Linked DNA regions of Homo sapiens: region 2 is linked to region 1. Evidence: promoter capture Hi-C in 16 types of primary human blood cells and fetal thymus (Javierre and others, 2016). All regions are on one chromosome and are shown on one strand. The core of a region is centred on a gene start or on the middle of the fragment in contact, and the rest is flanking DNA. Distances in the headings are between cores, read along the strand shown. Region 1 holds the start of NUDT4 (nudix hydrolase 4). Region 2 overlaps LOC105369896 (a long non-coding RNA gene).

Region 1 (3,616 bases), core at 15-2,514:
AGAACGAGAAAGGCTACTCCTTTCCAGATGTCAAGCCAGACAGCAAAGAACCCTTTATACATAAGCTGAGAGCTGGAGATTACTGTCTGAAAATGGCAGCTTTGCCCATCTCTAGTCCATCGTCTCCCTTTTGGCATTATTCCACATTTTTCACTAACCATTTTTCTGCAGTCAGAAAACTTTAAGAAGGGAAGGCCGTTTTAAAAATGAGGCATAATTATGCCAACAGCTTGCGGGTTCATGGACCCACAAGAATTGCCAAGACTAGACTCAATTCCAAGCACGAGGACTGTCTGTTACTCCACAAACATGCTTAGATCGAATCCGAGACCGCAAACGGCTGTAACATGGAAGGAAAATATGTAAAAGAGGCACAAGGGCTCTGCTGCAACACTCACGCCATTTCCACCCTCCTCTCGCTGAGCACTCGAGGTTTATCCGGCTTTCAACTCAATTCGCACGTTAAGATGGTGACTCCCGCTAGGCGAGACTTACGCGGCCCGGGACCTTCCCGGGGACCAGGCGCCTTCTCGAGTGCCCAGATGGAGAAACTGGGGCTGGGCGAGCCCCCTTTGTCTCATCTATCAGCCCAGAGAAAGGAAGGAAGAAGTGAGGGAGGAAAGGAGTGAGGGAGGAAAGGAGGGAGGGAGGAAGGGGGCTAATCCCTCCCAGCCCCGCAGCCTGCGCAGGGGCGGGGAGCGAGGGGAAGCACCCGGGCCCTAGACCCCGGCGCCCCGGAGGGCAGCGTGCGGCGCCGGGCGCCCTACCTCGTCCTCCTGCTCGCTCCGGAAGCACAGGCACGCCGCCCGCTTCTTGAAGCCCTCGCGGTCGTAGGTCCGCGTCTGGTTGGGCTTGAACTTCATCATAGAGGCGGGCTCCTGCTGCTGCTGCTGCTGCTCCGGCCGCCGCCGTGGGGGCCCGGCCGCCGCCACCCCGCCGGGGAGTGGGGGCGAGGGCGAGTCGGGCGCAGGAGCGCCCGGGAGCGCTAGTCGGTGCGGGAGGTGCGGCGAGGCCGGTCAGTCCCGGGGCCGGCGGCCGCTCCGACGCGGGCGGGACGGGACGCTAGCGCGGGTCACTGGAACCAGGGTGCCGAGATGAAAGCTCCGCCTCTGCCCAGTTGTCCGCCGCTCTCCATGGAGCCCGACTCCCGCTCGCCTCCGCTCCCTCCGGCCGTAGCCGCCAGGGGAAGGGCGGCTAGAGGCGCGCGCCACGCGGAGACAGTTGCGAAGACCCGCTCCCACTGAGCAGCAGCACCGCGGCGACCGCGCGCCGCCCCCTCTGCTCTGTTTAAATGAAGCCCACATGCGCCCCGCCTCCCCCGCGCGCCACTGCGCCTGCGTGCAGAGACCATTGCAATGGGGTGGGTGGGTAGGTGTGGCGGGGGAGGTAGGGGCGGGACCTCGGCCGCCCGGTGGGCGGGGCCGCGCGCACTCCCGGGCTGGAGTTCGGCGAGGCCTTGGGACTGGCGCTGGAGCCCAGCGTGGGATGACCGTGCCCCGAAAACATGCCAGTGAATGGAAAGAAGCCAAGGTCCCCTCCCTCCCTGCTTATACCCTCAACTTTGCCAATGAGGACCCTAAATACCAGCTGCACTACAGGGGATGTAACTACATACACCGTCACCAAAGTTGCAGCCTGGCCAAGAAATGCCAGGGGACGTCGCGGCGATTGCAGACTCCGCGGTGACTGTGTAGATACGTCCAGAATTCGCCCTTGTAGCGCGGGGAGAGGCGAGAGTGAAGGCCTAGAAAAGTTAAGACGTTAACTGTTTTTTTTTTCTTTGTTTTCACAAATGGGGGGTAGGCAAATTTCCTTTTTTTTTTTTTGTATTTAAATTTTTAATCTTTGGTTGGGGATGGCTTGTATTATTTAAAGAGTCAACTCTAGCTTAAACGTTTCTTTGAAGCTGTCTATAACATCCCCCACTTTGTGCCACCTTCCGGAAAGTATTAATACTGGCAATGGCTAATAGTTGCGAAATGGTTTTCATGTGGATCTCATGCTAAGTAACAGCGCAGCTGGATGCTGGGGCCACAGCACTAAAATATAATGGGATTTCTGCTATCTGGGAGCTTACAGTACCTTGGGGACTTGGAACAAACAACCTCTACACTTCAGAGTGTTAGAAGGGCTAAGATAGGAGCCAGGAGGCCTGATCTTAAGGTAGCTCGAGAAACCCAAACTCAGGCCATTCTGCCCTTCCACAGAGGCCCAGGTTGCTTGGGTCCTGACTTGGTTGGTTGGTTTTTCACCCCTTGAGGGCCTATTGTGTGTCAGGCACTGGCATCTAACAAAACCAGTCAGCCCCTGCCTCTCCAGGAGCGTAGGCACCTGAGAGCACACCGTCAAATATTAAATGATCACACGTGTACACGTAAAACTACAAATGTAATGGGCTCTAAGGTTTCAGACAAAGATTTGACCAGATCTGCAGTCAGAAAAAGATTATTGGGGCAGCAAGGCAGGAGCTGAGGGCTGAAGGAGGAGGAGCTAAATTGACCAAGAGCTTTCAAGGCAAAGGGAACTGGGATTTCTGCAGAGCCCAAAGTGGGAGGGAGTGAGGAGAGTTCTCAGAAATGAAAGAAAAGGCCAGTGTGGCTGCAGAGCGGAGGCAAGCTGGTTCCGCCTCTGGCAGAGGGGCCTGTGAGGCCTGACTGAGAGGCTGGGGACCACTGGAGAGCTCAGAGCAGGCACTGGTCTTTCTAGTCTCCAACCTCCTTTAGATTTGGGACTGCTGCATCTAACTCATCTTGTTACTCCCAGAGCCCAGCAGATGTAAGTTTGTAGAATGGGTTAGTGTTGAATAAATAATTTAAGGAATGAGGCTTCACCACAATTAGAAATCTTATCAAGACTGCGCAGAGATGTTTTCCAAGCCATTGATTTCTTATTGAAGGCACTTGAAATTTAACTATGTCCAGGATTTACAAACACAGGCAGAAAACATCTAGCTGGGGAGTCCGCTATGGCTAATATGTGATTATTATTTTTGGATAATTGGTTCACATCAATAAAGTTATTAATCCTGGCTTGGTTGCACAGGCTAGAGTGCAATGGTGCTGTTTCAGCTCACTGCAGCCTCCATTTCCCAGGCTCAAGGGATTCTCCGGCCTCAGCCTCCTGAGTACCTGTAACCACCACAGTTGCATGCCACCATGCCTGGTTAATTTGTGGATTTTTTTAGTAGAGGTGGAGTTTCACCATGTTGCCCAGGCTGGTCTCGAACTCCTGAGCTCAGGCGATCTGCCCACCTCAGCCTCCCAACGTGCTGGGATTACAGGCGTGAGCCACTGCACCCTCCTCACTATGGTCTTTTTTATTTTTTACTTTTATTTGTTTTATTGTGGCCTTTTAAATGACAAAGAGATTCCATTTCCTTTGTTTAAAACCCTTCAAAGTTCTGGTTTCTAGTTGTTGCTCAATAAATACTAGTTGGCTGAATATTTGTTCACTCAAGTCTTTCCCATTTATTAATTACATGAGGGAAGTCATGAATCAGAATTAACTGAGAAAAAAAAGGGAAGATGCTTAGAACCAAATCACGGAAGGGAGGAAAAACAGCAACACCAAGGCAGTGAGTGTGAGCTACTTGCTTCAGCTTCTTGGCCACTGGACT
Region 2 (3,689 bases), core at 984-3,483, 2.0 Mb after region 1:
AAGACAAGGCTGTTTGCCCTTAATTTAAGAAAGGAGTTTGAGGAGAAATAAGTAAAAGACTGCACAAGAAATATTGGAACCTGCATCTGTAGCTACATTAAGCCAAATGAGGGGAGGGGAGGGGTTGATGTAATGAATTCTTTACAGCTTAATTAATTTTAAAAAAATACTTCATCAAAACAATTTTACACGTAGGCAAATAACTGGTGAATGTCTTACTCCTACTGATTTGCTTTCAATGTGGACATACCTCTAATTTGTATTTCACATTAATCCCTAAAATCAAGCCTTTCTGCACCAGCATGCCTCCCCCACTGCCACCACTCCCATGCCCCACCTGATTTTACTCTCACTTTATTTCACAATGGTTGTGCGTATGCTGTTTCTTCTGTTTTGGACTCTCTTACTTCTTGATCTGATCCTTAACTGCTCTTCAAATTCCAACGTAAGTATCTTTTATCTGTCAAGCTTTCATTAGACTGCACAAAGGCTCACCTAAAATCCTTCTAGTGTTTTGCATATAGGTCCATCATCAGCAGACAACGATGATACTGGCACCTGGTGCACAAGCATCCCCTAGTCCTATCCCTGCAATGAAGCATGTGCTTGTCTGTCTCCTCCAGTAGACCAGAGGCCTCTCAAAAGCAATCATAATTTGATTGCTTTTCAGTACTTCTACCATTTAGTACAGGACCTGACAGAAGGGCAGGGCTGGGGATGGACAGAAACTTGAGCTCAACTCAAGTATAAGTTCTGTTTAATGGTGTGGGTGCCAAGAAGACTTGTGGAGAAGGATTCTGATGTGTAGCCTGTTCTGAGAGGGAAAGAGTTCCATGATCAATTAGCGATGTCGGCTATGGGAGTAGGAAACTGGGAATGGCAGTACCTATCCCACACATTTGCTCTTTTATCACAGGCATTCTGTAATTGTTTGTTGAGAGAACAAATACATTAGCAAACTTGAAGTAATGTTTCTTGCAATGTATATAACAATATTAAGTAAAATATTCTTTACTTCATTTCATAGCCTCTGATCTCAAGGATCACAAAACACATTGAGTATTTTTTATGTCACTGATCACTCCCTTTTAGTTTTGAATGTAGGTATTCATTTCTCTTAGAAGGGAATTTGAGACCCATAATCCATAAACAGATCATGCATATGCATAAAACAAATGTGATCTCCATGGTACCAAATATACAGGGTATCTGTTTTCTTCAGTAACTTGATTCAGTGGTTTTACATAGCCTTAAGATTACATGGTCAGTCAGAAGTAGGGCTTGGATGTCTGACTATTTTCCCCATAAACAGAAGGACAATATAATTTATAGTCCATACTTGGGACACCTTTGAGAGTGAATGGGGTGCTATTAATTATGTTGTAACAAGAGATGTAAACAAAAAACATTCTGGGACATGTGCGACGTATAGTCACCCTACTCTATAGAACTGTGACTCTAATTCTCCTATAGGCTACATTAAGTTGTTTGCTTAATATACACCCAAAACTGTAATTCCAATTGATTTCCTGTGGTTTCTTGGGTCACTGTATTGAGAAAGATATTAAGGCCGCTTCCAGATGTCACAGAAAAGGGTGCTGTGTTTCACTGGTGATGCCTGGTGGCTGACAAATGTGAATGAAAGGACAATGGTAGGAGTGCCCCTCACTTATGATTCCTGATCTAGAACTGAGAATCCACAGCTGTTTGCACTTCTACACTAGGTTCCTAGGAAGTAGTTATTTCCTCAATATTGACTCCTCCTCCATTTTGGTGCTTCAGTTCCCTTTGTGAGGATCTGGATTTCATATGACTTAGGCCATTCATAACCAAGATTTGCTGCTAACTTTCTAGACTTTATAAATTTGCTACTTACCATTTCCAGTTCTAGCTGTGCTACTCAGGATTCTTGATTTCTTGTCTATCCATACCGTCACAATTATAGACTTTTTTGTAAAATCACTTCCACCTAATTTTGGAATTACTGGGCTTCCAGTCCTCATGACCATACCCTTTACCTAGTGCATGGCTACGGGATCTTGTCTTTTATATAGCTTGGCTTCCATTTTTTAGCTTCCTAGCTATGACCAATTTCTCCCTGGCACCTGTAACTAGCAAAATCCTAAGTCCTTACATAACAGTTAATCTCAAAATCTAGTTTCCAAGCCAGTGCTCTCTCAAAGGTCTGTTGTTCTGTTTCCAAAATTAGCAATGAAACATGATGCAGGTATTTCTGATAAGAGGAGGATTTCATAATAAAATTACTCAGAAAAGTATCTCAATTATCAATTTTGTTTCAGCACAGAAGACAGAGCCTGAATGATCTTTGCCAAGTCCCTCAACTTAGTGTTTACAAAACTTCAAAATGTTTACTTAATATAATAATGACAAATCCCAGAGAGTTTTGTGAAGAATAACATAAAAGTCAGAAGGGCTTGCTTTGTTAATGCTAATTAACCCATTTGTGCCTGAAGCTGCAATTTTTTGAATTTTTGCAATCAGATCTTGGTGATGACCTTGAGCAGCAGGATATAAATAACTCCCAGATGCTTAGCGTTCCAATAATGGAACACTAGGCATAAATGGATCAGGACACCTGTCCTAATTCCATTATAGGATTGTACTGAGGAACGAATGCAGTGATAAATAACACAGTTGTTAGAAAATATAAACTATGGTCTTTTGTATAATGCAAATCTCAGATATGTTAGAAATGGCTTTTGTATTATTTATCTTAATCTAACGTAGTTTTAACTCCAAGACTCAATTCTACCATATTGCCAAGAATTCCTCTAGCCTTTTCAAAATAGCACCAGAGACTGGGAGCCTTAAATCTTCATGAAAATAGGGAAGAAGCTGATGTTCTGGCTAACATGGTCACTTCTGATTTTTTCACTATCCAGAAGATCCCCTTGACATCTGGCAGTTCTCAAGTGCTTGTGTACCAGTCTCAGGTGGGAATCTTTGGTCATGTTTGGAACGAACCCAGCTGTGGTCCCATCTCCTGGTAGCCATCTCTCACTTCTGCGGGCTCCTGACATCTAATATTCAACTCTGGAGTCATCCTGCCTTCTCCCACATTCATCTGAGGACCAGGGCTGTGGTTCCACTGCCCTAGGGCCTATGACCAATGAGCCTCTCTCCTCTGGGGGAAGACTCTCCACCCCTGGCTTCTACAAATTCTTCCTTGTCTTCTTTACTGCATGGGCAGGTGGGACAGGATGATTTCTTTCCATTTCCCCATCTCTTCTTCTCTCACTGGGCATCCTGATGGTGGCACAGGGGCAGCTAGGTGTCAGGGCTGGGACTTGAGCAACTCAATAGCTGACAGGCTCAGGGAGATAGGGAAATACATCACTGACAGCCTCGGCCTCTTCCTCTACAATCACCTCATTCTATTTCCAAACTCAATGCTGGACTCCCTCTCATGGGTTGTTGCACATTTGGTGATGAATTTCTTTAACTGGCTCTAGGCCAGGATGATAAAGCAAAGACTATAAAACACACAGAATTACTGCAAAGAAACAGAACCCACATTCTTTCCAGATATTGCATGTTGAAAACTACATATCCGTAGTCATCTGGAGATTTCGTTGTTTAGGAATACAATTCCTAGGTGGATTTTTCTTTTTCTTTTATTATTATAATTATTATTGTCAAAGGAAACTATTATAAACTGAATGCAATAG

Evidence for each region. Contacts are between HindIII fragments. The CHiCAGO score rates a contact against its expected background, and 5 or more counts as called.
Region 2: a contact is called between a fragment that was not itself captured here and the fragment with the promoter of NUDT4 in region 1, in 2 of 17 cell types (fetal thymus and non-activated CD4 T cells). The highest score is 6.8, in fetal thymus.

What each region holds. Positions count from the first base shown.
Region 1 is chr12:93,375,573-93,379,188 of GRCh38, reverse strand. It overlaps NUDT4 (nudix hydrolase 4), which reads right to left and starts at 1,264. Exons shown (of 5, transcript NM_019094.6): 1 at 768-1,264. The coding sequence starts at 866. It overlaps LOC643339 (a long non-coding RNA gene), which reads left to right and starts at 1,453. Exons shown (of 5, transcript NR_040096.1): 1 at 1,453-1,752. RefSeq lists silencers at 633-932, 1,153-1,492 and an enhancer at 729-1,668. The HindIII fragment of the contact is 6,665 bases long and covers 1-3,616 here.
Region 2 is chr12:91,383,071-91,386,759 of GRCh38, reverse strand. The region is part of intron 4 of LOC105369896 (a long non-coding RNA gene); the gene reads left to right. Among named protein-coding and RNA genes, the nearest start is that of LINC02823, 58 kb to the right of the region's middle. The HindIII fragment of the contact is 3,526 bases long and covers 471-3,689 here.